Regions from separate parts of the Homo sapiens genome. Here all the other regions are linked to region 3. Evidence: promoter capture Hi-C in human tissues and cell types (Jung and others, 2019). All regions are on one chromosome and are shown on one strand. Each heading gives the region's core, a stretch centred on a gene start or on the middle of the fragment in contact. The rest is flanking DNA. Distances are from core to core; before and after follow the strand shown.

Region 1 (3,642 bases), core at 287-2,786, 260 kb before region 3:
AGCTATAGAAAACATATTAACCAACCAACCATTGCTTCATTAGAAACTGCACCAAATCCAATGTCAAAAACATTACTTTATTTTTCTAGGATGAAATGTCCTATTACGTACAAAAGAATTGCTGTTTAGAATTTGCCACAATTTGTTAAAAACATAGCAATCTATTGCCTACAGGTAGGAAAGTTCTTGCTGCAACAAATTTTAAATGATTAAGCCCATATATATTTATATATATGAATAAATAGTACAGAAATACTGTGACGTGATGAGATGCAGAATAATTTTATAACTCATTAAAATGTAGAATTCTTGCATCAGCACAGTGCATACAATATGTAACATTTTTTAAAAAAGTAAAAGGACAAAATAACCCATATTTAACTACTTCCATCTTAATACTTTAAGCAAAAATTTTTTCATGTTTTCATATTGAGCGATTAGTCTTTAGTTTGTAAGCATAAGTTTAAGTGACATCTTTATGTACAAAAAGGAATGGGCTTCATTAGATAAAATTAACCCAGAATAACCTGTACACCTGAGCCTGTAATAAGAAAGAATCGGGAACTGTAGCAACATCTTTCTTTTAAGAAACTGAGGTCTGGGAAAGGTTTTGCATAGCAGGGAAACATTAAAAGGAAAGAAACTTTGAAAAACAATAATTAGATAAATTCCAGAAGTTGGTAGGACAAAGCTAATATGAGTTAGTGCAAAATCTAGTAAAAATTTTTGCAAAGCTGCATAATCCAACTATGGCAGATTTTATAGAAGCTATTACCACAATGCAGTGATACAACGTGTAAGAACACTGAAAGGAAAAACATGCAAAATACATCTTCCTCTGTGGTTTCCATTTTCTCGCTACTGTTTACACTACTTTTCCTTACGTGGAAGAAACAAACAAACCAACAAACAGAAAACAAACCCAATCAACAAATAACACAGAGGATGAGGTCATCTAAAAAATGCCCTTCATAAAATATAAGTAGCTGTGTGTAATTGGTAATTTGCCTGGTATCACAGAATGTACAGATGAAGGCAATGTGTATCTTGTCGCATTACCGTTCTCGTTAGTATGATCAACTGATGCAACAGGATTAGCACCCCTGAAGATTTTTCTCTGACGTGATGACAATGGACTGGGAATGATAAAACGAGGGGCCACTGCTGTCCTGGAGAAATCCAGGCACAATTAGACTCTTCTGCCTTTCATGACCTTGCAGGCCTCCCTCCCCACAAAGGCTTACAGATAATCATTAGCGCACATTCAAAGACACCTCTGTCTGTGGGAGAAAAATTATCTCCATTTATTTTGTTTCATATACATCCATAGTTGAATTTTAATACAAAAGAAAAAAATTAGAATCTGACAAATGTTTACAAACAAGATACCTTCAAATAGATTTTACTCATTTTAGCCTGGTGCAGAGTAATTGACAAATTGTACTGTTATATTCAAGGCAACAGAGTCTGTAGTCCAGGACCACTTAGCCCAACCTTTATGCAAGCTTAATTTTAATCTACCATGAACAATAAACTCATTGTTGATTCCCAGTTGTGTGTGTGTGCACATGTGTACATAGCAGCTCCTTTCATAGAAAGAAAAGACATCTAGAGGTCGTCTTGTACTTTTACCTACAGGAATCATGATAAGATACAGATGATTATATGTAACCGGGGCTGGATTTTATAAGAAAAAATAATTAGCTGACAAATGAGGGCAGCAATAAAAAAGCGTCTTTTTTGCAACAATAAATAAATACAGTCAAAAGTTTTCTGTGAGACTCTAAACCAGCTTCTTCACTGAAGAGCAGACGTGGCATTTCCATGGAGTTACACTTGACCCCATAGTATCTTTTTTTCTTGCTTTCTTTTTCTTTTTTTTTCAATAAACAAAGTTTTCTCGCTTCTGCCACAATAGTAAAACCATCTGATCTTGACAAGATAATGGTGTCGTTGACTTTGCTTTTTTCTTGTCCGTTGGACAAAATTGGCCAAGAATATAATTGGACTGTTATGACCAATAAAAACGAAGTTTAGGTCAAGTCTTGTCAGGATAGCCTGACTAAAAACATCTGGCTCCTTAATTTAAAATAGTTCAGACAACCAGATTCTTGCTGTGTTTTATGTTAGGTTAACACGCTGAACTTTAAGAAGCTGTAGACTGCAGTTTGTTGTTATGAGACCTACAGAATATAGAAAAAAGGGAACAATTAAGCACCCTTCATTTTTGAAAACAATGATGCTTTATGCGGATGCCAAGGTCAGTCAGTCTGGGAGAAGCAGCCATGTTCTTTCATTCACCCTTGGCAAGCGAATAGAAAAGAACGATTAAGAAAATTTTAACCTATAATATTAAAACTTTTCACTGTACACTAAACATAATAGCTCACTGGAAAAAGCCAATATTTAAATATATATATATATATATATATATATATATATATATATATTTGTCTAATAAAGATTACAACATTTTCAGCCAACTGGACAAATAGAGGCATTTACAGAAGCATTACCATTGTGGTGAAAGGTGTGTGTGTGTGTGTGTGTGTGTGTGTGTGTGTGTGTTTATTTACATTGATGAGGGGAATATAAAGGGAAAAATTACGCTAAAACAAAAGAAAAAGCAATCTTAAAATCACATTTTTCTATTAAAGTCCAGAAAGTCTCCCTTCTAGTTTCACAGTTTTATTCACAACTTTCATTAGTAAACCAAATTACTGTACAGTTACCAGGACTAAGTCAAAGGACTTTATATTGAAATAGCAGATAAATACAGTATTCCAAGAGTTTACAATTTTTAAATACATTGTTCAACATGGCTGCTAGAGTAAATTTTTTACCACGATACATCTTTAACATTAAAAAATTATATTAACTAATCTGACTTTTTGGGGGGCAATTTTGAATTAGGTAATCACGAGGTACAATAAAACAAAGAGTGACCCCAACATCCAGTTCTGATTCCAGTTAAAAATTCAGACTAAAGATATCACAATCTGTAAGAAAAGAAAGAATATGGATGGTATAAATGATGAATTATAACAAAGTGCAGTAATGAAAACAATGTGCAAACAATGCTGGAGATCATAAAATGGGAAAATATGGCAAAGGAAATTCTGAAAATCCATAAATAAATCAATTTTCAATAACTGGCTAGTTATGTTTCATTCTGCCTTAAATCTGGAAAACAATAGAAATTCCCTAAAAAGGCAACAGCAAGTTGCCCTTATACAACTCTTTACATTGTAATTTTGTTTTGTTTTGTTTTGTTTTGAAACAAGGTCTCACTCTGTAGCACAGTCTGGAGTGCAGTGGCGCAATCACAGCTCACTGCAGCCTCAACCTCCAGGGCTCAGGTGATCCTCCTACCTCAGCCTCCTGGGTAGCTGGGACTACAGGCACATGCCACCATGCCCGGCTAATTTTTTGTATTTTCTGTAGGGATGGGGTTTCCCCATGTTGCCCAGGCTGGTCTCAAACTCCTGGGCTCAAGCGAACTGCCTGCTTTGGCTTCTCAAAGTGTTGGTATCACAGGCATGCACCATTGCACACAGCCTAATTTGTTTATTTAAGCAGAATTGAGCAAACTTCTCAATTCAGCTCCCATGTGCTTTAATGAAAATTATGTCAACTTGAGTA
Region 2 (3,669 bases), core at 616-3,115, 290 kb after region 3:
TAGTCCCAGCTACTCGGGAGGCTGAAGCATGAGAATCGCTTGAACCCGGGAGGTGGAGCTTGCAGTGAGCCAAGATCACGCCACTGCACTCCGGCCTGGGCGACAGAGCAATATTCCATCGCAAAAAAAAAAAAAAGAAACAGTAACTAAAAAGAGTAAAAATTAAAGAAATAGTTCATCATAAAATGGAAACACATAATGAACTTCTTTCAACATTCCAAGTTGTTGTGTGGTTTGGTTTTGTTTTTAAGAGATGGGGTCTTGCTTTGTCACACAGGCTGGAGTGCAGTGGTGTGATCATTTCTCACTGCAACCTTCCTGGGCCCAAGGGATCCTCCCACCTCAGCCTCCTGAGCAGCTGGGACTACAGACACATGCCACTGCATATGTCTAATTTTTTTTTTTTTGGTAGAGACAGGGTCTCACTATGTTGCCCAGGCTGATCTTGAACTCCCGGCCTCAACTGATCCTCCCACCTCAGCCTCCCAAGTAGCTGGGACGACAGGTGTGCACCACCACGCCCAGCTGTTTTGTTGTTGTTGTTTAGAGACAGAGGTCTCACTACCTTGCCTAGGCTGGTTTCAAACTCCTGACCTCAAGCAATCCTCCCGCTTCCACCCTCTAGAGCATTCTGCCTCCTAGAGCACTGGGATTATAGGCATGAGCCACCACACTGGCCAACATTCTAAGTTTGTTTTTGTTTTTGTTTTTGAGACAGAGTCTTGTTCTGTCACAGAGGCTCGAGTGCAGTGGCATGATCTCAGCTCACTGCAACCTCCACCTCCCGAGTTCAAGCGATCCTCCTGCCTCAGCCTCCCAAGTAGCTGGGATTATAGACTAATTTTTTTGTGTCTTAGTAGAGACAGGGATTCACCACGTTGGCCAGGCTGGTCTTGAACTCCTGACCTCAAGTGACCCTCCCACCTCAGCCTCCCAAAGTGCTGGGATTACTGGCATGAGCCACCACACTAGCCAACATTCTAAGTTTTTAAAATCACAGAGTAGTAAGGAGAATTAATGATCCAGAGAAAAGACGTTACCATCTATAAACTCCTGCGCATTCAGAACTGTCTTAAACCCTTTATAAACCTTATTGCTATACCTCTGAGATTCCTCTTTTGCAGATGGGTAAAAAGAAGTTCAGAAAAATTAAATGATTCAGAACTGGAAGTAAAATTGTGTTGTTTCAAAGCAAGGCTGTTTCCACTACACTGATAATTCCTAAATGATTCCTAAATGCTAGTGCACAGGTTCATTGCCAAATGGAAAAAACAAAGCAAGTGCGGTCTGTTTTCAGAAAGCTAAATTTATTCATCACATAACTACTGAAATTGTATTCCTTCTAATATTTAATGCTAAAATATTCTTTCAGAAAAGAAAGGATATTTTGACATGAAAATTCTCTCAAATCATAAAATTCATAAAAACAAGATTTTAAATGACAAATGAATAAAAGAATAATGGTGGTAGAAATAATTACTTTGTAAGTTTTTTTTTTTTTGAAACAGAGTTTTGCTCTTTCATCCAGGCTGGAGTGCAGTGGCACGATCTCAGCTCACTGCAACCTCCGCCTCCCAGGTTCAAGTGATTCTCCTGCCTCAGCCTCCTGAGTAGCTACGATTATAGGCAATCGCCACCACGCCCAGCTAATTTTGTAATTTTAGTAGAGATGGGGTTTCACCATGATGGCCAGGTTGGTCTCAATTCCTGACCTCAGATGATCCACCTGCCTTGGCCTCCCAAAGTGCTGGGGTTACGGGTATGAGCCACTGCGCCCAGCTACCTTGTTTTAAAACATCCTTACTTTGCAACATGAAAAACAGATGATCTTACATCAATCCCCAAAATTTCTTTTAAATTTTACTGACCCATGAAATACAAGACTGGCAACCACTGTCCTATAATCACTAGCTTTCAATTTACCCATCAGTGGTTCATGAAATCATTTTACCTGGTCAATACATGAATATTCTTCTTTCTTTTTTTCTTTCTTCCTTCTTTGATAAAATAGAATAGAAAAACAGAAAACATCAGGAGGTAAAGACAAGTAGGTAAAAAAGCCGGGCGTGGTGGCTCATGCCTGTAATCCCAGCACTTTGGGAGGCCAAGGCAGGTGGATCACCTGAGGTCGGGAGTTCGAGACCAGCCTGACCAACATGGAGAAACCCCGTCTCTACTAAAAATACAAAATTAGCCAGGCGTGGTGGCACTATGCCTGTAATCCCAGCTACTCGGGAGGCTGAGGCAGGAGAATCGCTTGAACCCGGGAGGCAGAGGTTGCAGTGAGCCGAGATCACACCACTGCACTTTAGCCTGGGTGACAGAGCGAGACTCCGTCTCAAAAAAAAAAAAAAAAAAAGCAAGACAAGTAGAAAAAAATGGTTAACTAATGTTTGTTTTAAGTTTATAAATACATAAATGCTAGTTTATATGGGGTTGGGATGTATAACGTACTTACTGCAGGTAAATGACTGTCAAAAAACTTTGAAAACCTTTGTACTGTTTTTCTTAGAGTAGTACATATTCATTATTAAATATTTGTAAAACACAGGAAAATTATCAAGAAGAATGTTTAAAATCATCTATAATCTCATTACCCGCAGGTCACTATTTGTATTGCTAGGCGCAGTATGTTTTCTTTCTTTCTTTTTTTTTTTTTTCTTTTTGAGATAGGGTCTCACTCTGTTGCCCAGGCTGAAGTGCAGTAGTGCGATTTCTGCAGCCTCATCCTCCTGGGCTCAAGGAATCCTCCCACCTTAGCCTCTCGATTAGCTAGGACTATAGGTGTGCACCATGATGCCCTGCTAATTTTTGTTTTTTATTTTTTAAAAAGATGGGCATTATGTTGCCCAAGTTGGTCTCGAACTCCTGGGCTCAAGTGATCCTCTCACCTCGGCCTCCCAAATTCCTGGGATTACAGACATGAGCCACCACACCCAGCCAAGGCACAGTATGTTTTCATATTACAGAGACACTAGCTGTAAACACTAAATATTCCTAAACCCTCTAAAGTAGCAGCATTATTTAAATAGAAGACTGAGCCTGGCACAGTGGTGGATGCCTGTAGTGCCAGCCACTCAAGAAGCTGAGGCAGGAGGATTGCTTGAGCCCAGGAGTTCAAGCCTGCAGTGTGCAATGATGTTGCCTGTGAACAGTCACTGCACTCTAGCGTGGGCAACACATCGAGAACCCCATCTGTAAAAAATAAAATAATAAAATAAATAGAAGACTGATCGTCAAGGACAATGTGCCACAAATGGGGGAATGCCCTTAGACAAGATGAACTATTATCATTTCAGACACTTAGGTATCCATCAATCTCTCTGATCATATCAAGAGTTGGAATTGATTTCTAGGCACCTTGCTCACGAAGGAATGCAATCTCCCATCTTAAAGGTAAGCATCTGATTCCACCATTAACATTTTCAACAAAGATTCCATCAAATCAGATGATGTATTTGCCTGGAGTTTTGTTTCTACTTGTTAAATATGGTTTATTTTTAGCTGTAGGAGTGATGGAATTTGTGTTAACAGGCCCTGGTGAGAATAATCAGTTCACAGCCAAGCTCGGGTGCAGCCAATGTTCATGTGTAATGAAGGATGACTTTGAAAATACAGCAAATCCAGCTCACTCACTCTTGTGAGGAGTCCGAGGAGTCCGAGGAGGTT
Region 3 (3,680 bases), core at 1-2,500:
CTCAAGTGATCCACCCACCTGGGCCTCCCGAAGTTCTGGGATTACAGGCGTGAACCACCGCGTCCGGCCAAACCTCTAAAAGGGTAGTTAAAATGAAAATATAACTAAGTTCCTAAATAAGTAAATAAGCAACCCTTTGTTAAAAAAACAATAGTACATTTAAAAATTGATTATATTATGCCTCTGCATGGGAAGTTATGCCTCTGAACAGCGGCATGGGAAATTAAGTAGGGACATCTGGGATCATGTCTATCCAATTCCAATCTGCCATTGTATTCCTATGCAGGAGCTGCAAAACTGCAAATCTACTTGACATCCCAAGTGAAACCCAATAGAGTTAGCAGAGTCAAAACGGCACAGGGAGCTGTTAGCAACCTGTTCTCAAAACGTCAAAGCAGATACCTAACTTCTTTAAAACATGGAAAACTATGTTCAGCAGCCCAGAGAAAAGTAACTGCTTTCTATGCGACCACCAAAAGCAAGGTTAGAAAGTGTTCTCTATCAGGCTTTAGGCTGAAATGGGGGCAGGGCTTGCAGATTTTCCCAGGACTCAACTCCAGGATTCCCAGCGTGAATCAGAGATGCCAACAGACAACTCACTTGGAGGCAAGATTCTTAGCGAGCTATCAAGAAAGTCCCTCACTCTCTAAAATTGTCCCCGCCCCTACAAAGAGAGGGGTGTGAAGTGTAGACACGGCTAAACCACTATTCCCACTCTGTCAGTGTCATCCTCTCCCGCCCAACCAATCTCCGTTCCATCCTCCCGCGGGCGGCTAAGATAATAAAGACCCTAGGAGGGAATCTTAGCAAGGCCAATTCCGCGAGTTCCGAAGCAAAAGCACAGGTTTTCTTTCTTTTCCGAGTCTAACCCACGTGCACTCAGACGCTCTGCCCCTGCAAGTCGGAAATATGCCTTTACAGGAAGGCAAGCAAGCCAGATTCCAGACCTCACTCAGCGTCCCCAACAGGCCCAGCCGGCTCTCTGCTAAGCCTTCTCCACGATCTCTTTCTGAAGCTGTGAGAAACTTGAGCTCGAGCTCCGCGCTCAGAAAGGGGCGAGAAGGCAGTCGGGGCGCTCCCAAACCTATTGCCTTCACCTTATAGAGGATGACTGTCCTGCCGCTGTCTGTCACTAGAAACTGGTCTGTTTTGTCGCTCTGCTCCACGCCTAGGAGTCCTTCAGGCCCGGCGCTCAGGACTACCGAAGACAACGTGAATTCTTCCTCCAGCGCTGCCATTTTGAGCAAACCTAAGTACGGCCGCGCTCACTCCCGGCAGGCCTCGCGCTTTCTCTCGCGAGAATGAACGGGCCTGAGGGGGCGAGTGCTTGCCAAACCAGGAACCTGCTCTCGCAGCCTGCGACCTCTGGCGGGCGGAAGGAGCGAGCGCGACTGTGAATTTAGCCAGGTGGGCTGGGCCGGCTTGCGTCAGACTCCGCCTCCCGAGACCACGCCTCGCCGAGTCCCGGATGTGCTCCAGGAAGGGATAGGGTAGGCGCGGAAGTGCTGCTTACTGGGTCCTGAATCGGCTGCGTGCTGTTCTAGGTGGGGACTTGAGAGACTGTAGATGGGTCTAGGGAGTGGTCGAATATAAATAAGCTAGATTTTTTTTTTTTTAATTGCAAGGGAACTCCCTAGGAATTCCATCCATGGCCTTGTGGAACGATCTGCCAAAGAAAAAATATTTATCTCTGTAGGTAAACTCCCAATAACGTGCTGTTCCTACGTGAAATGCTTAATTCCCCCCAAGTTTCTTGGAACCCTCTAGAGATCTCCAGTCTTTTCAGTCTTTCAGGCCTTCTGAGTTCTCTGACTCCCCTTCTCTGAGCCCCAGTGGGGAAAATCTCTCCTCAGCTTACAGGAAATTCAGACTAGTTTGATGAAGGTGAAGTTGAAGGTCCCCTGTGTGATTTTTGGCAAGGTTTTTATTTCCGGGAGAAATGTATGTTTCTCAGATAAGCATGGCAGATTCAATCAATAATGTTAAATAAATAAGTAAAGATAAATTGTGATGTTCTTAGGGAGAAACCATTTAATAGGCAATTACTAAACAAATGTACCCAGTGTGACAAAGTGCCTCAGTTTAGATTTAAGCATCCACCAGATCGCCATGTGTGTTGTTTCTCATTGCCCCAACATGACGACATGGGCAAAAGGAGAATATCCAGCTACTGTGAAGGAATCAAATGCAGTCTATTTTTATAATGCTAATAGGTCTTTTGTTGTTCAAAAGTAGTGGCATTATCATGGCTCACTGCAGCCTCTAACTCTTGGGCTAAATAAAGCAATCCTCCTGCTTCAGCCTCCCGAATAACTGGGACTACAGGCATCCATCACCACGCCCGGCTAATTTTTGTATTTTTTGCAGACATGGAGTCTTGCTTTGTTGCCCAAGGTGATCTTGAACTCTGATAATCTTTTAATTTTTAGGCTGGGTTGTGAGATCAAGAGGATATAGTTTATTATTATGCTTCATAACTTACTTTGTGATAGGTGGTAAGAAGAAAAACATTAAACTCAGAAGGGAGAGATAAAGCGTGGGTGTGTGGGGGAGGAAGGAGTGGTCTGTGTATGTGAAATTTTCACTAGGATGACCACAGGCCTCCTTGAGAGGATGTCTTTTTTTTTTTTTTTTTTTTTTTGAGACAGGGTCTTGCTCTGTCGCCCAGGCTGGAGTGACGCAGTCTCAACTCACTGCAATCTCTGCTTCCCGGATTTAAGCTATCCTCCCACCTCAGCCTCCCGAGTACCTGGGACTACAGACATGCACCACCATGCCCGGCTAATTTTTGTATTTTTTGTAAAGATGGGGTTTCACCGTATTGCCCAAGCTGACCTTGAATTCCTGGGCTGAAATGACCCTCCCCCCTTGGCCTCCTAGAGTGCTGGGATTACAGAGCCACAGTGCCTGGCCCAAGGGTATCTTTTGAGGATGGCATGAAGGAGGGGAGGGAGCGATCATGCAGTTAACTAGGGGAGGGAGCGATCATGCAGTTAACTAAGAGCATTCTCAGTAGCAAGTGCGCCTGGGGCACCAACAGGGAGATTCCCTAGAAGTCTATCGCAGTTATTGTAGTTACCAGGTGAGAGGTGATGAGGGCACCATCAGTAGCAAGGCTTTTCTTTCTTTCTTTCTTTTTTCTTTTTTGAGGCGGAGTCTTGCACTGTAGCCCAGGCTGGAGTGCAGTGGCGCAATCTCGGCTCACTGCAAGCTCTGCGCCCCGGGTTCACGCCATTCCCCTGCCTCAGCCTCCTGAGCTGGGACTACAGGCGCCCGCCACCATGCCCGGCTGACTTGTTTGTATTTTTAGTAGAGACAGGGTTTCACCTTGTTAGCCAGGATGGTCTCGATCCCCTGACCTCGTGATTCGCCCGCCTCGGCCTCCCAAAGTGCTGGGATTACAGGCGTGAGCCACTGCGCCCAGCCTTTTTTTTTCTTTTTTGAGACAGAGGTTCACTCTTGTCACGAAGGCTGGAGTGCAATGGCACAATCTCGGCTCTCTGCAACCTGCAACCTCTGCCCCCCGGGTTCAAGCGATTCTCCTGTCTCAGCCTCCCGAGTAGCTGGGATTAGAGGCACCCACCCCACACCTGGCTAATTTTTGTATTTTTAGTAGAGACGGGGTTTCACCATGTTGGCCAGGTTGGTCTCGAACTCCTGACCTCAGGTGATCCACCCGC
Region 4 (3,947 bases), core at 1,087-3,586, 510 kb after region 3:
ATTTAAGAATAATTAAAGACATCATGACATTTATCCCTAAATACTTCAGTATGCCTCTCTAAAAAATAAGATCAAGACTGCATAACCACAATATTATTATTAGCATAATAGAATTGATATAATTCTCTAATAATTCCCTAACCTATCTAAAGTCCAGTCCATAATCAAATTTACCTGTTTTTCTGTCCCCAAAGTTTTTTTTTTAAATAGCTGATTTGTTTAAACCAGGAACTGATTAAAGGTTATAAAATTTTAAAGTTGGAATTCTGCTTCAATAAGAGTAAACATACTCTGAGTGAGGACTCAAGGGCACCTTTGTAAGTTCCTGGGTTTCAGTTCCAAGTTCATTGTTGTATTCTGGATAGTGAAGATTGCCAAGCCAGCGACCAATGGATAAGTGAGGTAGTTAAGTCACTTTTCATTGTCTGAACATCAGTTGTATTTGGCATAACACAAAAACTTTGATGAAATAATGGTTCTATTTTTGCCTTTCGAATAGTCATTATATAGGAAACTTACTTTTTTTTTTGAGTCTTGTTCTGTTGCTGGGCTAGAATGCAGTGGCGTGATCACAGCTCACTGCAACCTCTGCCTCCTGGGTTCAAGCGATTCTCCTGCCTCAGCCTCCCAAGTAGCTGGGACTACAGGCATGCGCCACCACGCCCAGCTAATTTTTGTATTTTTAGTAGAGACAGGGTTTCACCATGTTGGCCAGGATGGTCTCCATCTCTTGACCTTGTGATCTGCCTGCCTTGGCCTCCCAAGGTGCTAGGATTACAGGTGTGAGTCACTGTGCCCGGCCATTTTTTTACACTAAAAAAATGAATGAGGTAAATGGAGAAAGTAAAATCAAAAGAACGTAATCTTATCAACTAAGAGTATTGTACCACTTGTAATATGTAGGTTAAACTTAACCATCATAAACATCAATGAAAATTTTTTATGAGGCTGTAAGATTTGTAAAGCCTAGCTAAGAGTTTTGTTAATGTAAGAAGTCATCATTGCAAACAAAGGGGCTTGGGTCATCTACTGATGTTTGTTGTTGTGAGACTTGGCCTGTGAAGTAAATGATTCAGTAATCAGCAACCCCTGTTAAAGAGGCTGACTTTTAGAAAAGGCAAATTGATAGGCGATTGGTTGAAACTTCTGTACTCTCTCTGGGGGAGGAAGTGATATCTGTAACTACCTTTCTTCTGAGAAGAATTTGTTTGTTAATTTGGAGATGGCATGTCATGGTGTCACCCAGACTGGAAGTAGAGTGGCGTGATTATAGCTCACTACAGCCTTGAAATCCTGAGCTCAAGTGATCCTCCTGCTTCAGCCTCCCCAGTAGCTGGGACAACAAAGTGTGCGCCAGCATAGTTGATTAATTTTTGTTTTGTATTTTTTGTAGAGATGGGGTTTTGCTTTGTTGCCCAGGCTGGTCTTGAGTGATCCTGGCTTCAGGTGATCCTCTTGCCTCATCCTCCCAAAGTGTTGAGATTACAGGTGTGAGCTACTGCACCTGGCCCTCAGAAGAGTTTTGATTAAATAGTTTCTATGGTAGTTAAAAATTTTTTTGGAAAAAATATTTAGTGAATGAGTTAACAGTATTTATTTAAAATTGTCACAGGGTTGGGCCCTCTGAAATATGTTATTTAGTCAAATTGTATTATCATTGCAGTTTTACAGATGAGCAAACAGACTTTGTGAGATTAAGTTACTTGCTTAAGAGCACAGAGCCAGTCCAGAGTGGAAGTGTGGTTTTGAACTGAAGTCTTTCTGATCTGAAAGGGCATGTTGCTTTGCTTTATCCTCAACTACTACTTGTGTATACTTCAGCTTTGTTTTGTTTTGTTTTGTTTTTGAGACAGAGTCTCGCTCTGTTGCCTAGGCTGGAATACAATGGTGTGATCTTAGCTCACTGCAACCTCTGCCTTCTGGGTTCAAGCGATTCTCCTGCCTCAGCTTCCCAAGTAGTTGGGATTACAGGCGCCCACCACCATTCCCGGCTAATTTTTGTATTTTTAGTAGTGACGGGGTTTCACCATGCTGGTCAGGCTGGTCTTGAACTCCTGACCTCAGGTGATCCACCCACCTCGGCCTCCCAAAGTGTTGGGATTACAGGCGTGAGCCACCGCGTCCGGCCTACTTCAGCATTTTGCAGATGTTTTTATCTCCTTTAGCCTAACAAACTTGGAAAACAGGCACAAAAAGAACTGTATTATTCTAGAAATGAAAAAGATTGTGCCTCAGGATCACTAAAATAATTATAATATTAGTGTGGTGGAGACAAGAATTTCAGTATTTAAGCTCCTTGCCAGTGTTGTTTTTTTTTTTTTTTAATTCCCCAGGCTTTTAAAATAGAGACGCAGTTCAACAACCAACCTACCTTCTTTCCTTCCTTCCCTCCCTCCCTCCCTCCCTCCCTTCCTCCCTTCCTTCCTTCCTTCCTTCCTTTTTGCCTTCCTGCCTCTCTTCTTTTCTCTTCTCTTCTCTTTTCTTTTTTCTTTTCTTTTTTTTTGAGACAGAGTTTCACTCTGTCATCCAGGCTGGAGTGCCATGGTGTGATCACAGCTCACCTCAGCTTTGATGACCTTCTGGGGCTCAGGTGATCCTCCCACCCCAGCCTCCCAAGTAGCTGGGACTATAGGCACATGCCACCACAACCGGCTAATTTTTTTCTGTTTTTTTGTTTTGTTTTCTGTTTTGTAGAAATGGTGTCTTGCCATGTTGCCCAGGCTGGTCTTGAACTACTGGGTTCAAGCAATCCTCCTACCTTGGCCTCCCAAAGTGTTGGGATTACATATGTGAACCGCTGCACCCAGCCTTAACAACATTTCTTAATTCATTGTTAGATCCAGTTACAAACTATTTTTTAAAAAATTTATATATATATAAGCTTTATGTATTTATTTTAAACTCTTTATTCTGAAATAATTATAGGTTAACAGGAAGTGGCAAAGATAATACAGAGAGGTCCCACGTACCCTTCACCTACTTTCCCCCAGTTATTACGTCTTACATAACTCTGGCACCATATCAAAACAAGGAAATTAACATTAGTACAAGGAATGTGTGTATTCTGTGTCATTTTGATCATGTGTAGACTGATTTAACCACGAATACAATTAAGATACAGAACTGCTCCATCATCGTGAAGATCTCCCTTGTGCTGCCTCCTACCTTTTACAATTTTTTTTTACAATTTTTTTTGAAAAACTTCTTTTTTTGTTGTTTCTTTCTCAGGAAATGTACTATTCCTTTAGAGTCACACTCAACCACCCTTCCTTACTACCTTTTCTAACCCTTGGCAACCACTAATCTGTTCTTCATCTCCCTAATTTTGCCACTTTGAGAGTGTTATAGAAATGGAATCATATAGCATATGACCTTTTCAGATGGCTTTTTTCCACTCACCATGGTCCTCTTGAGATCCATCCATGCTGTTTTTTGTTTTTGTTTTGAGACAGGGTCTTGCTCTGTCGCCCAGACTGGAGTGCAGTGGAGTGATCTCAGCTCACTGCAACTTCAGCCTCCTGGGTACAAGCAGTCAGCCTCCCAAGAAGCTAGTATTATGGGTATGCGCCGCCATGCCTGGCTAATTTTTGTATTTTTAGTAGAGATGGGGTTTTGCCATGTTGGCCAGGCTGGTCTCGAACTCCTGGACTCAGGTGATCCACCTGCCTCAGGCTCCCAAAGTGCTGGGATTATAGGCTCGGCCTTTATTTTCATTTTAAATTCAGTTTCTGAATTGTTAGTTCTGAGAGCATGATTATATCTAAGCAGTGAGTGATTTTATATCATTACTGACTAAAGGATTTAGTTTGTATGGTAATGAAAAAAATTTTTAGGAAAGTTTTTGGAAAAAATACCTTCATTAGGCTAAGCTCTTTAATAAAACACTTCAGAAGTAACTAAGGATTTGATAAAAGAAATAACCTAGGCTGGGTGTAGTGGCTCACACC
Region 5 (3,731 bases), core at 492-2,991, 490 kb after region 3:
ATGGTGCTATCTCAGCTCACTGCAACCTCTGCCTCCCGGGTTCAAGCGATTCTCGTGCCTCAGCCTCCCGAGTAGCTGGGATTACAGGTGCCCGACACCACACCTGGCTAATTTTTGTATTTTTAGTAGAGACGGGGGTGGGGGTTTCTATGTATACAGAACTTGAGTTCTATGTCTCAAGTCAGAGATGAGGCTGTGGTTTTTATGGTTGGGTGGCTGGAAGAATGGGACATTAAAGAAAAAAAAGAATAGGGAAGTCAGGAGGGAGAATGGCTCTTAGGAGTTTAGAATGAAGATGAATTTGGTTTTGATTGTGTTGAGTTTAAGGAGCTTGTAGAAAGTTGAAATCAGAATTTTAATCCTAGAAGGAACTTCAGAGATTATTGGGGCAACAGCTAAGGAAGTTTAGGGCCCTGAAAAGTTAAGAGGACTCAGTGAGGTCTCACAATTAGTTAAAGTAGAACCAACATGGAAGCTTCAAGATTCCCAGTCCATGACTTTTCTCTCTGCTTCACACTGAGAAATGCTGAAGGTTCTTAGCGGTGGTGTCTCCTCACCCAGGCAGCAGTGCTCAATAGAGAGTAGGAAGTGCCATAGTTATGTTGGGGAGTGAGGACTTTATTTTCTATCTTTTAATTTTATTTTTAAATTTTTTGAGACAGGGTCTTGCTCTGTCACCCAGCCTGGAGTGCAGTGGTGCGATCTCAGCTCACTGCAGCCTCCGCATCCCAGGTTTAAGCGATTCTCCCACCTCAGCTTCCCAAGTAGCTGGGATCACAGGGGCATGCCATCACACCCGGCTAATTTTTGTGTTTTTAGTGGATATGGGGTTTCACCATGTTGGCCAGGCTGGTTATGTTTATTTTATTTTTTTGAGACGGAGTCTCGCTTCTTCGCCTAAGCTGGAGTGCAATGGCTCGATCTCGACTCACTGCAACCTCTGCCTCCCAGGTTCGAGCAATTCTCCTGCCTCAGCCTTCCCAGTAGCTGGGATTACAGTCATGTGCCACCATGCCCAGCTAATTTTTGTATTTGTAGTAGAGACAGGGTTTCACTCAGTTGGCCAGTCTGATCTCGAACTCCTGAACTCAAGTGATCCACCTACCTTGGCCTCCCAAAGTGCTGGGATTACAGGCGTGAGCCACTGCGCCAAGCCCAGGCTGGTTATTTTTTAATTAAAAGTTTTTTATTATGGACATTTTCAGACATACAAAAGTAGAAAGAAGAGTGTAATCAATGCCCATGTACCCATTGTCCAACTTCAACAGCTCTCAGTATTGTTTCATCTGTTTCCTCCCTCTGCATCAATTATAGTGAAGCAAAAGTAATCTGGTGACCTTAAATTTTGTGTATTAGCAAGTAAGAAGAGTCAAAAAGTTTAATAGGGTATGTTCTTAGGTCTCTGCATGGGGTCTAGAGTAAAGAGAATTAATTCCAGAATTCCTATGCTGCCGCAATTTTGTGTCTTTGGGCGAATTAACTTAAGTCTTCTGGGACTAAGTCTTGTTTTCCATGACAATGAAAACTTATTGCTTGTTAAAAATTTTAAAATACAATGCCAGACACAGGGGCTCACGCCTGTAATCCCAACATTTTGGGAGGCTGAGGCGGGCGGATCATGAGGTCAAGAGTTGGAGACCGGCCTGGCCGACATGGTGAAACCCCGTCTCTACTAAAAATACAAAAATTAGCCGGGCATAGCCGGTTATGGTGGTGTGTGCCTGTAATCTCAGCTACTCAGGAGGTTGAGGAAGGAGAATCGCTTGAACCTGGGAGGCGGAGGTTGCAGTGAGCTGAGATTGTGCCACTGCACTCTAGCCTGGGTGACAGAGCGAGGCTCTATCTCGAAAAAAAAAAATTATAAAATACAGATGAATAAAAAAGCTGTAATAGCATCACCTGGAGATACCCAGTTTTATTTTTGTAGTAAACTTTTTTTTTTTTTTTTTTTTTTTGAGATGGAGTCTTGCTCTTTGTCCCAGGCTAGAGTACAATGGTGTGATCTTGGCTCACTGCAACTTCCCCCTCCCGAGTTCAAGCAATTCTCCTGCCTCAGCCTCCTGAGTAGCTGGGATTACAGGCGCCTGCCACCACGCCTGGTTAAGTTTTGTATTTTTAGTAGAGACAGGGTTTCACCATATCGGCCAGGCTGGTCTTGAACTCCTGATCTCAGGTGATCCACCCATCTCCGCCTCCCAAAGTGCTAGGATTACAGGTGTGAGCCACCGCACCTGGCCTGTAATAAACTTTTCATTTTGTAATAATTTTAGATTTACAGAAAATTAAGAAGTATAGGTCAGAGTTCTCATAAACTCTTTACCCAGTTTTCCCCATTGTTAATGTCTTAGGTTTCCACGGCACGTTTGTCAAATGTAAGAAACCATTGTTGGTACATTTCTTTTTTTTTTTTTTTTTCCGACAGAGTCTGGCTCTGTCACCCAGGGTGGAGTTCAGTGGCATGATCTCGGCTCACTGCAAGCTCCGCCTCCCGGGTTCACGCCATTCTCCTTCCTCAACCTCCCGAGTAGCTAGGACTACAGGCGCCTGCCACCACGCCTGGCTAATTGTTTCCATTTTTAGTAGAGATGGGGTTTCACCATGTTAGCCAGGATGGTCTCGATCTCCTGACCTTGTGATCCACTTGGCTTGGCCTCCCAAAGTGCTGGGATTACATGCGTGAGCCACCACACCCAGCCATTGTTGGTACATTTCTATTAACTAATTTTTAGACTTTATTTGGATTTCACCAGTTTTCCCACTAATACCCTTTTTCTGTTCCAGAATCTATCCAGAATCCTGCAATGAATGTAGCAGTTTTGTCTTCTTAGTCTTTTTTGGGCTGTGATAGCCTCTCAGACTTTGTTTTTCATGACAGTTTTCAGGAGTACTATTTGGATATTTAATAGAATGGTCCTCAATTTGGGTTTCTCTGGTATTTTCTTCATGATTAGACTGTGTCTTATCCTTCCTGATTTTCTTATGCAAAATATTCAATACTTACATATTTCACAAAAATGAGATGACCATTATTTATAATCTGTTTTTTACTTACAAAATGGGATTATACCATATATATTATTTTGTAACTTGCTTTTGTCACTTTAAATCTTCCCAGTAACCTTATTGTTAACACTGTATAGAAAACTCTGTTCTCAGTTTTAAAGTCTGATTTGAAAATACAGCATTAGAACATAATCTGTTGGTAAATTGAAGATGGCTTTTAAGGGGCTGTGATAGTACTGGTGGTAGTAGTAATGTGATTCTGTGTCTACACAGATAATCTGGAAGCAAAAATCAAGAAACAAAAAGAATAGACAATGTTTTATAGTAATATAATTTTCTTGGCAAGCAGTAACCTTTTCTAGAAGTCAGCCTTTTAGTATAATTTGCTTGCTTTTTTTTTTTTTTTTTTGAGATGGAGTCTCACTCTGCCACCAGGCTGGAGTACAATGCCGCGATCTTAGCTCACTGCAACCTCTGCCTCCCAGGTTCAAGCGATTCTCCTGCCTCAGCTTCCCAAGTAGCTGGGATTACAGGAATGCACCACCAACCCCAGCTAATTTTTTGTGTTTTTAGTAGAGACAGGGTTTCACCATGTTGGCCAGGATGGTCTCCATCTCTTGACCTCGTGATCCGCCTGCCTCGGCCTCCCAAAGTGCTGGGATTACAGGCATGAGCCACTGTGCCCAGCCTTGCTTGCTTCTTAAGTATGGGTTTTTTGTTTCTTCATA
Region 6 (3,828 bases), core at 772-3,271, 380 kb after region 3:
TGAATGTTGACTTGTAAAAATTGAGTAAGAAAATCAATGTTATGATTTAATTTTATGTTTAGGTAATAGAGTAATAGTTTCCCAAGCAATCTTGAGTACCAAAAACTAACTTAAGTATCAAGTGATCCTAGGTCTTGTTGGAACAGTGTTGTCTTTAGGTCCATGTTTCTATGTTGACAAAATGCATAGCACACAAAGAGGAGTTAACCCAAGTGTGTAGTAATGGCCTGAAAGCCATTTCTGTCCCCAGAAGGATCTGTGACAGTTTAGGTGGTAAGACTCATGGAACATTAGAGTTGGAAGGTTTGTTCCTTGATCAGCTTGTCAGCTCTTGTCACTTATGAATGAGAGTACCAGAGTCCTTAGAAGTCAAGTGTCTTGTCCGTGGTACATACTTGCCAAGTAGCAGAGCATATATTCTAACCCAGCATTTCTGGAAACAAATTAACTGTACCATACTGCCTTTTAAGGGGAAACTTTGTAGAAAAGGGAGTAGACCAACTTGCCGTTGGCATGGATACCAGCAGTATTGAGCTTGCAAGGAGGCAGATTCAAACTCACCCCTGACTGAGTCTACTCAGATTCTATTCATTCCCTAGACTATCAGTAAAATAAGTACTTATTATAGGAAGTCAGCAGTTGCTAACTCTTTTTTTTTTTTTTTTTTTTTTTTTGAGGCAGAGTCTCACCTTGTCGCCCAGGTGGGAGTGCATTGGTGCGATCTCAGCTCACTTCAACCTCTACCTCCCAGGGTTCAGGCGATTCTCCTGCCTCAGCCTCCTGAGTAGCTGGGACTACAGGCGTGTGCCACCATGCCTGGCTAATTTTGGTATTTTTAGTAGAGATGGGGTTTCACCATGTTGCTCAGGCTGGTCTTGAACTCCTGACCTCAAGTGATTCACCCAATTCAGCCTCCCAAAGTGCTGGGATTACAGGTGTGAGCCACCACACCCAGCTGAGTGTTACTAACTCTTAAGAATGAATTCCCCTGCATATTCTTGGATGAAGAGTTCAGAAAATGCTTTTCTGAAGTTTTGTTTATTGTCTGTAATTTATCCTGTCTTAATCCAATTTATCTTTCTCTCTTGCAGGAGTCCGAAGCCTTTCTCTCAAATCTAGTAGTTAACAAGACCATCTTTGCTAAAGTAGACAGATTAGCAGGAATTATCAACTTCCAGAGACCCAAGGATCCAAATAATTTATTAAATGACTGGTCTCAGAAACTGAACTCATTAATGTCTCTGGTTAACAAAACTACGCATCTCATAGCCAAAGAGGAGATGATACATAATCTACAATAAGGGTCTTAGTGCTTTAGAAAAAAGTTAAAATTGGAAGTCATTAAAAAAAGACTGTTATAATGGTGTATATGTTGGGGTTTTTTTTCTAAGCTTCTTTGTCTTAAATTTTAAAATAGTGAATATGTTTGAGACTCCCTTTGACCTTTCAGTTCCCCAAGTTCATTGTTAACTTTGCATTTGCAATTGGTGCAAAAATACAGATTTCTGTCGTCTGAATACACAAAAAGTTGTGTCATAACTTACCCAGATATGTTTTTCTATCATTTGAAACCTTTTTAGCTACTGTTTGTTTTCATTCAACTAACAAACATATTCCAATAATAAAAGCAGTATATACATATTTCCTTTCTACAGTTACCTCTGATTCTCAACATTTTGTGGGGTAGTGATTTGGCAAGTGTTTTTTAAATAAAACAAATCTCATTGTAAAGCTATCAGTCATTTAGTAGAATAGAAAAGCAACATAGAGCATACAAGAACATTTGGGATAGAGTTGTGATTTGTGAAGAATTTGTACTTTGATATTGTGGCGGAAAGTCTAGACTGAGTGTGTATGCTGGTAAACTGTAGACTTTTTTTTTTTTTTTTTTGAGTCCGGCTGGTTCCAATCACAGTAGCTTGATTGCTTTCAGCCCTCATCCTCTCACTTGATCAGTTGTTCAACAGAATCAGCTGACATAATTGACACAGTTTATTGGGTGTTAAGTCCGCTCTATAGGGATAGTGACTACTTTTTTTTTTTTTTTTTTTTTGCTCTTCTTCCTCTCCCCTTTCTTTATATGGGTTTAAATTTAACATAAAGTTGTTTTTATAAGGCTTATTTGTGGCTTTAACTTGTAAGTCTGATTACATCATTATTGTTCCAAATTCATTATCTCTGTAGGAACTTTTAGTTCCATTATATGAACACTGGATAACCTAATTTTTTTTAATGCTTTAAAAAAATGGCAAAAAGACGTCAGGCCACCCTCATAGTAAGTGGTGTAGTATTAAAATATTTTCACGGAATTAAAAGTAGCTTGCTGTCAAAGAAACACCTGAGATGAATTGGTGTGAACGAATTTTGCAAGTTTAATTTGATTTATTTCAGAGAAAATAGAAAAAACAATGTTAGAAGGTTATTTAAAATGATACTTAAATAAAGAAAGTGTGAGGTCTACTTTAAAAAAATTCAAATGAAGAGAAAAAGAAAAACAGCATTCTAGAAATGGCATTTCTCCTAATTAATTTTCCACTTAATGGAAGATTATCAATTGTCCTATTTTATGATCCCAGGACTGAAGACAGTTGTGGGATATCTGTCATATTTATCCTGTGAGTCATTGTGAATAATGACATACAGTACTGAAGTAATCTGATTTTATTCTTTGGAAATTCAATGCATTGGTCACACTAATAACATCAACATCTGCTATCACTTATCTTTTTAAAACTAACCAAAAAAGGCCGGGTGCAGTGGATCCCAGCACTTTGGGAGGCCAAGGCGGGTGGATCATCTAAGGTCAGGATTTCGAGACTAGCCTGGCCAACATGGCAAAACCCTGTCTCTACTAAAAAAAATACAAAAATTTGCCGGGCGTGGTGGCGTGTGCCTGTAGTCCCAGTTACTTGGGAGGCTGAGGTGGGAGAATTCCTTGAAGCCAGGAGGCGGAGGTTGCAGTGAGCCAAGATCACACCATTGCACTCCAGCCTGGGTGACAGAGTGAGACTCCGTCTCAAAAAAAAAAAAACAAAACTGGAAAGTTCAGAAACAGAAGTTCACACTAACAGAGTATGGTTTTAATTTTCCTTTGAATGAAAAGGATAGAAGATAAAATTGTGTATTGTTAACATGTAAATAAAATTGGAGCTAATTTGAAACTAGCTTCTCAATAACTTCATCTTTCTAGAGACTCATTACCTGTGGGCTTGTCAAACCTGGACTATTTGGCCAAATAGGTTGCTATAGAGATTGCAAGTGTTCCTCCTCTTTATTTTTTTCATATTTTTTGAGACGGAGTTTCACTCTTGTTGCCCAGGCTGGATTGCAGTGTCACGATCTCGGCTCACTGCAACCTTTGCCTCCCATATTCAAGCAGTTCTCCTGCCTCAACCTCCCAAGTAGCTGGGATTATAGGCGCCTGCCACCACACCTAGCTAATTTTTGTGTTTTTAGTAGAGATGGTTTCATCATGTTGGCCGGGCTGGTCTCAAACTCCTGACCTCAGGTGATCCACCCGCCTTGGCTGCCCAAAGTGCTGGGATTACAGGCATGAGCCACTGCACCCAACTCCTCTTTCGTCTTTCTTTAACACACACTAGGCTCTTTGTGTATTATGATTCAGTGCTATTTGTAACTGTGTCCCAGTGACCAAATTGCACTCGACTCGATCAGCTGTTCATCCATTTCGTGTTTTTTCCTGTCAAACATTAATCCAGCAAATATATGAGGTATTTACCAATTTATTTTCTTAGTATTACAAAATAATTCATTAGCATAAAGTACAATAGTGAAATATTTGAGTTGTTCGGAACCTCAATTAATCCT

Evidence for each region. The method cuts DNA at HindIII sites, captures the fragments that hold promoters and counts their contacts. A contact is called where the count stands out against the background at its distance.
Region 1: a contact is called between a fragment that was not itself captured here and the fragment with the promoter of NOL11 in region 3, in 1 of the 25 tissues and cell types used here (lymphoblastoid cells).
Region 2: a fragment that was not itself captured here is called in contact with the fragment with the promoter of NOL11 in region 3 in 1 of the 25 tissues and cell types used here (mesendoderm cells).
Region 4: a fragment that was not itself captured here is called in contact with the fragment with the promoter of NOL11 in region 3 in 1 of the 25 tissues and cell types used here (hippocampus).
Region 5: a contact is called between a fragment that was not itself captured here and the fragment with the promoter of NOL11 in region 3, in 1 of the 25 tissues and cell types used here (mesendoderm cells).
Region 6: a contact is called between a fragment that was not itself captured here and the fragment with the promoter of NOL11 in region 3, in 1 of the 25 tissues and cell types used here (mesendoderm cells).

The regions. Positions count from the first base shown.
Region 1 is chr17:67,980,793-67,984,434 of GRCh38, reverse strand. It overlaps BPTF (bromodomain PHD finger transcription factor), which reads right to left. Exons shown (of 28, transcript NM_182641.4): 28 at 57-2,183. The coding sequence ends at 2,147. Among named protein-coding and RNA genes, the nearest start is that of C17orf58, 14 kb to the left of the region's middle. The HindIII fragment of the contact is 8,005 bases long and covers 1-3,642 here.
Region 2 is chr17:67,427,530-67,431,198 of GRCh38, reverse strand. All of the region lies in intron 1 of PITPNC1 (phosphatidylinositol transfer protein cytoplasmic 1), which reads right to left. Among named protein-coding and RNA genes, the nearest start is that of MIR548AA2, 42 kb to the left of the region's middle. The HindIII fragment of the contact is 8,731 bases long and covers 1-3,669 here.
Region 3 is chr17:67,715,506-67,719,185 of GRCh38, reverse strand. NOL11 (nucleolar protein 11) reads right to left here and starts at 1,250. Exons shown (of 18, transcript NM_015462.5): 1 at 1,098-1,250. The coding sequence starts at 1,238. LOC101928045 (a long non-coding RNA gene) reads left to right here and starts at 1,508. Exons shown (of 4, transcript NR_188294.1): 1 at 1,508-1,544. RefSeq lists enhancers at 1-77, 1,000-1,189, 1,260-1,339 and a silencer at 640-729. The HindIII fragment of the contact is 26,229 bases long and covers 1-3,680 here.
Region 4 is chr17:67,207,497-67,211,443 of GRCh38, reverse strand. The region is part of intron 5 of HELZ (helicase with zinc finger); the gene reads left to right. Among named protein-coding and RNA genes, the nearest start is that of HELZ-AS1, 35 kb to the left of the region's middle. The HindIII fragment of the contact is 5,627 bases long and covers 1-3,947 here.
Region 5 is chr17:67,230,277-67,234,007 of GRCh38, reverse strand. The region is part of intron 3 of HELZ (helicase with zinc finger); the gene reads left to right. Among named protein-coding and RNA genes, the nearest start is that of HELZ-AS1, 13 kb to the left of the region's middle. The HindIII fragment of the contact is 5,838 bases long and covers 1-3,731 here.
Region 6 is chr17:67,338,316-67,342,143 of GRCh38, reverse strand. It overlaps PSMD12 (proteasome 26S subunit, non-ATPase 12), which reads left to right. Exons shown (of 11, transcript NM_002816.5): 11 at 1,092-3,828. The coding sequence ends at 1,301. Among named protein-coding and RNA genes, the nearest start is that of PSMD12, 26 kb to the left of the region's middle. The HindIII fragment of the contact is 5,273 bases long and covers 1-3,828 here.